Linked DNA regions of Homo sapiens: region 2 is linked to region 1. Evidence: promoter capture Hi-C in 16 types of primary human blood cells and fetal thymus (Javierre and others, 2016). All regions are on one chromosome and are shown on one strand. Each heading gives the region's core, a stretch centred on a gene start or on the middle of the fragment in contact. The rest is flanking DNA. Distances are from core to core; before and after follow the strand shown. Region 1 holds the start of SORCS3 (sortilin related VPS10 domain containing receptor 3). Region 2 overlaps CFAP58 (cilia and flagella associated protein 58).

Region 1 (3,830 bases), core at 321-2,820:
TCAACGACGCCACCTCTCGGTACATCCTTGTCCAGGAGAACCCGGTGGCGGGGAAAAGCGGGTGGAGAGGTGTGCAGGAAGCTCAGGCACCCAACTCCGCTCAGGGAGCCGTTTGTGGCGCAGGACGCAATGGTGAAGTCGAGAGTTTTCTGCTGAGCGACTTCCGTGTGCCTGTGCGTGCGTGAGGGCGAGCGGTGTGGCATGAGCGCTGGATGGGTGTGGAATTTCGCTTCACGCTTTAAACTTTTTTTTACGGCCTCTGCTACGGCTTTCCAGGGCCGCTCCCTGGACTTTGAAGGAGGAACCGGGGTTACCTGAAGGCCAAGGCTGGGGGCCGACTTGGCCGAGCCTCCCTCTTGGGCTGGAGGACTGCGCGCCTGGAGCGGATAGCAGCGACCCCGAGGCGAGCAGGAGGCTGGGAGTCCGAATGGCCTTCCGGGTTCCCTTTCGCGTGACGGGAGGGGGGGTGGGGGTGGGGTGGGGGTAGGGGGAGCCCGGCAGCCGCAGGAATCGGTCTGTTCAGCGGCTCCCGCCCCAAGTCAGCCCTTTTTCTCATCCAAGAATTCAAGCACCCCGCAAACAGGAAAACTGACCCTCCAAGCCAAGTATTGGAGAAAGTGAGCACAGATCCCTCCCCCACTCATCTTTAAGAAGCCCCTTCCTCCACTCCCCTCCCGGCGGCCGAAGCCTAGGGTCTCCAGTAAACAAACACACACAGCGTCTAACAACAAACTCCGTTAACCTGTTGGGGGCGTGGGGGGAATCGGACAAACCTGTTATCTCGAAAAGTCGAGGCGTCCCCCGCCTCGACCCCCGAGCAACTATCTGTCCCTCGCTCCCACCCACCCCCCCATTCCCCTTCGGTGTCAGGAAACAGGCGGACCCGCCGCCGGGTGGGTACTCACGCTGCTGTTGTGTCCCGACCAGTGCACCATGGCTTGGTTGTGGGCCGAGTCCCCGGTCAGCGCGAAGGAGGTGCTGGGCAGCCGGAGGTCTTCAGCCGCCGACCCCCCAGCCCGCGGCGCCTTCACCTCCTCCCGGGAACCCTTAGCAAGGGGACGGCTTCCTCTGGAACCATCGGCCGGAGCAGTGGCCCAGGCGTCCCCGCGTTCCTGGGTGATTGGGGGCTGCGCCCGGCGACTCCTCCTCGCGCCGCCAAGCTTGGCAGGAGCTGGGATGCCCCGGCCCCGCCGCTCGCCTGCCGGTGATGTCCCTCCGGCTTCCACCTGCATCTCACCGCCTCTGCCGCCGCCCTGCTGGGGCAGCAGCTCTGGTCCGGCCCGGCGCCCCAGCACGGCGGCTCTCCGCGCCGACGCCAGCTCCTCCGGCCACTGGCTGGCCACTGCCCGCGGCGAGAGTGGAGACAACGCCGGTGGCCGCGAAGCCGGGGCCGCCGGGCGTCCGGGACCGCCTGTCGCGTCCCAAGTGATCTCGGCGCCGGCCAGGACCCACGTCGACAAGAGTAGGAGCCCCGTCCGGACAAGCGGCGCCCCCGGCCTGCCTGCGGGGCGCTCCGTGCGCGCCGCCTCCATCCCGCTGCGGCTACCGCGGCTCGGGCTGCCGAGTGTGTGGCGCCCGCCGAGGTGCGGGTCCGGCGCGGGGGGTGTGCGCGCGCCGGCGAGCGAGCGAGCGTGTGTGTGTAGGGGGAGTGGGGAGGGGGCGGCCGGGAAGGAGGTGGCTCCGGCTGGCGCGCCTCGCCGGTCCTCTCCACTCTTCCCTCCTAGCTCCCGCTCGCCCGTTCTCTTGTCCAGAGGGTGATTCCAAACCCGAGGAAAATTAATAATTGCCCCTTCGGTGCTTTCTTTCTTAAAATCAGATTCCCCCCAATCCTCCCCACTGAGCTCCTCCAGAAATTTGGTAAAAAGGAGTAATCAAAGGTAATAAGAAAATCTTCTTAAAATATGAAAATCAAGCCGGATCCAGGAGGGGCCGGCAATAGACCCCAATCCCGAGTCTCTCCGAAATCCAGCCTCCAACGTGCTCCCGGCGAAGAGTTGGGAGCCGCTTCTGGACGCGTTTGGGGGTTTACTCTTCGGGCCTGTTATGAGGGGCGGGAGATGGCGCGCGGGGAGGGTACAGGGGTCTCGGGGGAGAAGGAGGAGGAGTTGTGTGCTCAACGCCAACTGTTCGCGTTCTAGAGCCGAGAGGGAGCCAGGTGCCTCCGCGCGGGGAGGCTGCGCACGGAAGCCAAGCGCGGGATGCACCCTGGACTCTGCTCGCCGCTCCCTGGCCCGGCCGGCTCCCGGCCAAACCCCGCCACCCAAGGCCTGCGCCCCCGCGCGGGGGCGTGGGGAATGCGTGCGTGCGCGTGCGTGCGCGCAGGCAGGCGGGCGTGAGGCGAGGGGTTCGCAGGGGGCCGGCGGGCAGACCGGGCGCTGCCGCGTGGGGGCACCTGGCTGAGCCGGGCCGGGAGCGCGGCTGGGTGTGAGGGGGCGCGCGGTTCCGTGCGTGCGCGTTTGCACGAGCATGTGTGCACGTTAGTGTGAGCGATGGCAAGTGGGGCGGGGGCGGGAGGTGTGCGCTCGGCTTTTGGTCGCGTGCGGATCACGCACGGGCTGTGTTTGCATTTCCAGGAGCCTGCGAGTGGTCAAAGAGGCAATGCTGAGAACTAGGCAGGCCGCTCTCGGCAGCCCCCTCCTCTTGGCGCCCCGAGCACCCACGGCCCCCACTACAAGCGGTTAGAACCTGATAAAGCCTCCTAGGGGATGAGGGAAAAGAGGCGGAAGGCCCCGGTGGGATCGGGGACTTGCCAGATCTTCTCGGTTGAGGGATTCTCCTTGCCCCGACCTCCCGGCCAGAGGTGGGGCGAGAGAGTAGTCGAGATGTCTGTTCTTCCAGGGAGGATCCAGACCTCATTTTGCTGCCTAGGATTTTGAGGTCGTGCCCTCACTCTCCCCAGTCCGTTTCTGAACGGACTCAATTGTTTCAAAGTGTCGGCCGCCAGTTAAGAGGGTACTCAGGCGGGAGCCGCGTGGGCTTATCTGGTCCCCAATCCGCTACTGCAGGAGTGTAGCCTGCGCGCTTGGTGCAGCTGAGATCCTTCGTGACCGTAGGAAGAAGGAGACTTCAGGTGGGCTGAAGGGAAATGAGCTAAACCCACAGACGACCTCGAGCTGCGGTTTACAGGCCCCAGGACATGTGGTGTAGCTCGCCGCCTCCGAGAAGCCCCTGGGATTCTAGGGGTTGAAAAGTCTGAGACTAGAGGAGCTAGAGGAGGAGCTATTAAGAAAGGAGGAGGCAGGAGGGAGGAGGCTTAGGGAGAGAGAGACAGCCTCCAGCCCTGCTCCTCCCCTTCGGGAGTAGATAGAGTTCCTCCTCTCTAGAAGATGGTTAAAGTGGAGCGAGAGGGAGGGGAATGCGCGGAGAGGAAAGAAAGGTGAGAGGAAGGAATGAAGGAGAAAATAGAGGGAAAAGGGGAGAGAGGAAAGACAAGATGAAGGAGAAAAGGGGCGAGAGAATGGTGCAAAAGGAAGAGGGAGATAGAAGAGGAGGCGAAAGGGCGCCAGGTAAGAGCCAAGAGGGATGGAGGAGGCAGAAGAGGCGACTGAGAATCTAAGCTGGCCAAGGAAGAAGACATCCAGCGATTCCCGAGAGCCCCCGCCCTCTTGAACTTGCCTTTCCACCCGGTGCCAAAATGGCAATTAGCAGCGGGGGAGGCTGGGCCAAAGAACCAAGCCAGCGACAACGTCCGGCCCAGAATGGTGCGGGTCCTGGCATCTGTGGGTTTCCAAAGACAGGGAGTAGCGGGTATTCCTAAGAAAAGTTCCAGCGCCGCAGGCCCAGGTGGGCGCGGGATCGGGCGCTGGACGAGAGCCGGCCATCCGCGAGTT
Region 2 (3,800 bases), core at 1,092-3,591, 230 kb after region 1:
CCCAACCATTCCAAACGCTAAATAAGGAATTGATTAAAAGGGATTGAGACAGGACATTAAACTTTGGAGGCCTGGAAAAACTGTGCTGGTAATTAATGATATTAATAATAATACTATTATTAATAACATTGTTAATGAGAACTAAGAATTCTATTAAACTTTTATGTGAACTAACACAATTCTATGGGTACTATTATTGTCCCCAACTTATGGATGAAGAAACTAGTGAGTCAAGCAAATAAGAGATTTCTGTTTATGGCAATATGTCAGACTAAATAACATGAAAACTAATGTCCACAAAGCATTAGACATGCTGAGTAAAACAATTCAGCATGAGTTTTAATCACAAAACAGAATTTTCAATTAGTTTGCTCAAGTGTCAAAATCAAAGCCTGAACTGCATGTTAGAACAGTGAATAGATATATATTGCAGCTCTCCCCTGAGGGATAGCTGAACAAAGGGCCTGGATTTTAGTGGCCACAAGAAGGCAAAGGATAAGGTGCTGGGCCTGTGTGAAGTGGGTGTTAGTACTAAGATTCCTCAGCATAAAGTTAGTGACTTTTAAAAGTTTCACCCTTGGCAAAAAGATACAATAGAAATCTACCCACTGGGACAGGAAGACCACAAGGAAACCTAACTATCTCTCCTGGGCTCTGGGTGGGGGAAAAAAAAAAAAGTTGCTTCCCTAAGAATTTGTATCCATTCATCTTCTGTCACAAGAGTTTGAGGTTCTAGTATATGTTAGCCAAGTAGTCCAAGAAACCCAAAGTGAGAATTTAACATTAAAAAAAAATTATTCTAAGCAAATGATACCTTCTAAGGCACCTGGCAGAAACAAATGAATGGACATACCCTTAACCTGAACCATTCCCAAGTCCCCAAATAAAGGCTTTCTGAAAATGAGTTCACAATCCAAAATCACAAAACACAAAAAGAAAAATCCACCATGAGTGAAAGTCAGCAGTCACAACAAACAGGAAAACCCCTCGAGAACTTCAATAATAGAACACTCAGATTAAGACTATAAAATAAATTTTTGAATTAATTGGGGACATAAAGGAAGGATGTAAAACATGAGAAAAGATCAAGAAACTATCAACAAAAACCAGGCATATGTGAAAAAGAGTCTCTATAAAATAAAAATAAAATAATTGAAAATAAAATCTCAGTGGATTGACTATTAGCAGATAAGCACACTGAAAGAACTGGTGAACAAGAAGATTAAGATTAACACTTTGGGAGGCCAAGGCCAGCAGATCACTTGAGGTCAGGAGTTCGAGACCAGCCTGGCCAACAGGATGAAACCCCGTCTCTACTAAAAATACAAAAATTAGCTGGGCGTTGTGGTGGATGCCTGTAATCCCAGCTACTCAGGAGGCTGAGGCAGGAGAATCGCTTGAACCTGGGAAGCGGAGGTTGCAGTGCGCCAAGATTGCACCACTGCATTCCAGCCTGGGTGACACAGTGAGACTCCATCTCAAAAAATAAATAAATGAATAAATAAATAAATAGAGATAAAGCTAAGAAAATGTAACAAAGAGTTAAAGAGAAGAAAAACATCAACTAGGTCAGTAAATAGGAAAAAAGAATAAGAAAACCCAACGTACTTCTAATAAGAGTTCCAGGAGGAGTGAATAAAGACACTAAAGAAGAGACTATTCGAAGACACAGGAACCCTCAGATTCAGGAAATGGAGTGTGTTCTGAACATAGTAAGCAAAACTAAATTAATACCCAAATGCGTTGTGCTGAAACTCTGAAACATCAAAGGCAAAGAGAAGATCTAACTATCAAACAGAAGAAAAGGCAGGTCACCTAAAAAGGAGCAGAAACAATTAGACGTACAGCAGACTTCTCAGTCACATCACTGGAAGCTGGGGACACAAAGGACCAACATCTTCAAAGTGCTAATAGAAATAACATTTCAAGTTAATCATTTACAAATAAGGCCAAATTAAAAACATTTTTAGACAAGCAAAGGAGAGTGTTAACCATTGAAAAATCTATTGGTTAAAGAACTATGAAAGGATATACTTCAAAAAGGAAGAGACAGAACCCAGAAGTAAGGAATTGGAGATATGTAGAAATAGAAAACAAAAGAACTGGTAAACATGTTGGTAAATCTTAACAAATTGACTCTATAACATAATAGTGGTGATGGCTGATTTTGGAAACAGCAGGGTAGCTGCAGTTAAAGCATTCCAAATCCTTACACTGTTTGTAAGAAGGAGAAAGATATTGATCAACTTTAGACTTTAGATTTGATGTCAACTATGCATGGTGAATTTTTAAGGGAATCTATGAAAGAGAAAAACAAAGAATTAAGATAATGTATTTAAGGGAATCAGAGACAGAGAGAGAATATTATACTGAGTGGTGGTAACTGTTGAGTAAAAGAAAAACTGTAAAAAGGGAATAGGTAGTAATGGTTAGTGGGAAGACTGGTAAACAGGAAAACAGAACATAAAGAAAACTCAGTCTGATAGAATTTTTTTGAGCATTACAAAAAATCAGGGAAAATAAGAAGGTAGAAATAAACCTAAAATTATCAATAAACAAACTAAACACAAAGATAAGATTTTTTTTTAATTACAAGAGATATTCCTAAAGTACAAAGACACCAAAAGTTTAAAAGTAAAAATATAGGAAAACTACTTTTCAAAATCCAGCTGATTGAGCTATGTTAATACTAGGCAAATTTGTAAGTAAAAATATTATTACGAGAGTTCTTACATAATACGAAAGGAGCAATTCAAGCAGGAAGAAATAAAAATTATAATCTTATACTCACCTTATCATGATCTAAAATGTTCTTAAAGCGAAAAATGTCAGAGAGAAGGAGAAATAAGACAAATCTCCAAACTTTTTTCAGTGATTAAGCAGACAGAAAATTAGGAAAAGTACAGATGTGGACAATACAATTAACAAGGTTGATCTAACGAACAAACAGAGAACACTGAACCCAGAGCATTTAGAGAGTATGTATGTTTTTCAAACAGCAGGCGTCAGGTATAAAAACTGACCACTTAGTTGGTCACAAATCAAGTTCAACAAATTCCAAAGAATCTGTATAATACAGACAACAATGCAGAAAAGTGACCAATCAGTAAGTAAAAGATAACTTAAATACATATATATTTGGAAAATTTAAAATACACTTTTAATTATCCTAAAATATTATAAAATATCTCCTAATTATGATTAGGAGAAATAGTGAATATTTATTAAGACTTACTGTCAAAGGAGAAATAATTCTGAAAATATACAACATTTAGGACTAAATGAAAATTCCCCATATCAAAACCTGTGGAAAGGAACTAAATAATTTTTTTTTTTATGAGACGGGGTCTCACACTGTCACCTAGGCTGAAGTGCAGTGGCACAATCACAGCTCACCACAGCCTCGAATTCATGGGCTCAAGCAATTCTCCCACCTCAGCCTCCTGAGTAGTGGGGACTAAACGTGCACGCCCCCACGCCTGGCTAATATTTGTATTCTTTGTAGAGATAAGGTTTTGCCATGTTATCTAGGCTGGTCTCAAACTCCTGAGCTCAAGCAATCCACCCCCACTTGGCCTCCCAACGCGCTGGGATTATAGGCATGATCCACTGCACCCAACCCTAAATAAATTATTTAAAAGACATTTTATAACTGAAATATTTATATTAGAAGAGAAGACTGAACATTGATGAGCTGAGCATTAACCTTAAAAAGGTAGAAGAACCCAGTAAACCCAGAGTATATAGAGGGAAGGAAATAATAAAGTTAGAGCAGTCCATGAAATATAAAACAAACTTAT

Evidence for each region. The method cuts DNA at HindIII sites, captures the fragments that hold promoters and counts their contacts. A CHiCAGO score of 5 or more calls a contact.
Region 2: a contact is called between a fragment that was not itself captured here and the fragment with the promoter of SORCS3 in region 1, in 2 of 17 cell types (M2 macrophages and M1 macrophages). The highest score is 6.6, in M2 macrophages.

What each region holds. Positions count from the first base shown.
Region 1 is chr10:104,639,030-104,642,859 of GRCh38, reverse strand. It overlaps SORCS3 (sortilin related VPS10 domain containing receptor 3), which reads right to left and starts at 1,570. Exons shown (of 27, transcript NM_014978.3): 1 at 906-1,570. The coding sequence starts at 1,532. The HindIII fragment of the contact is 3,039 bases long and covers 1,163-3,830 here.
Region 2 is chr10:104,408,638-104,412,437 of GRCh38, reverse strand. All of the region lies in intron 15 of CFAP58 (cilia and flagella associated protein 58), which reads right to left. Among named protein-coding and RNA genes, the nearest start is that of CFAP58, 57 kb to the right of the region's middle. The HindIII fragment of the contact is 5,900 bases long and covers 1-3,800 here.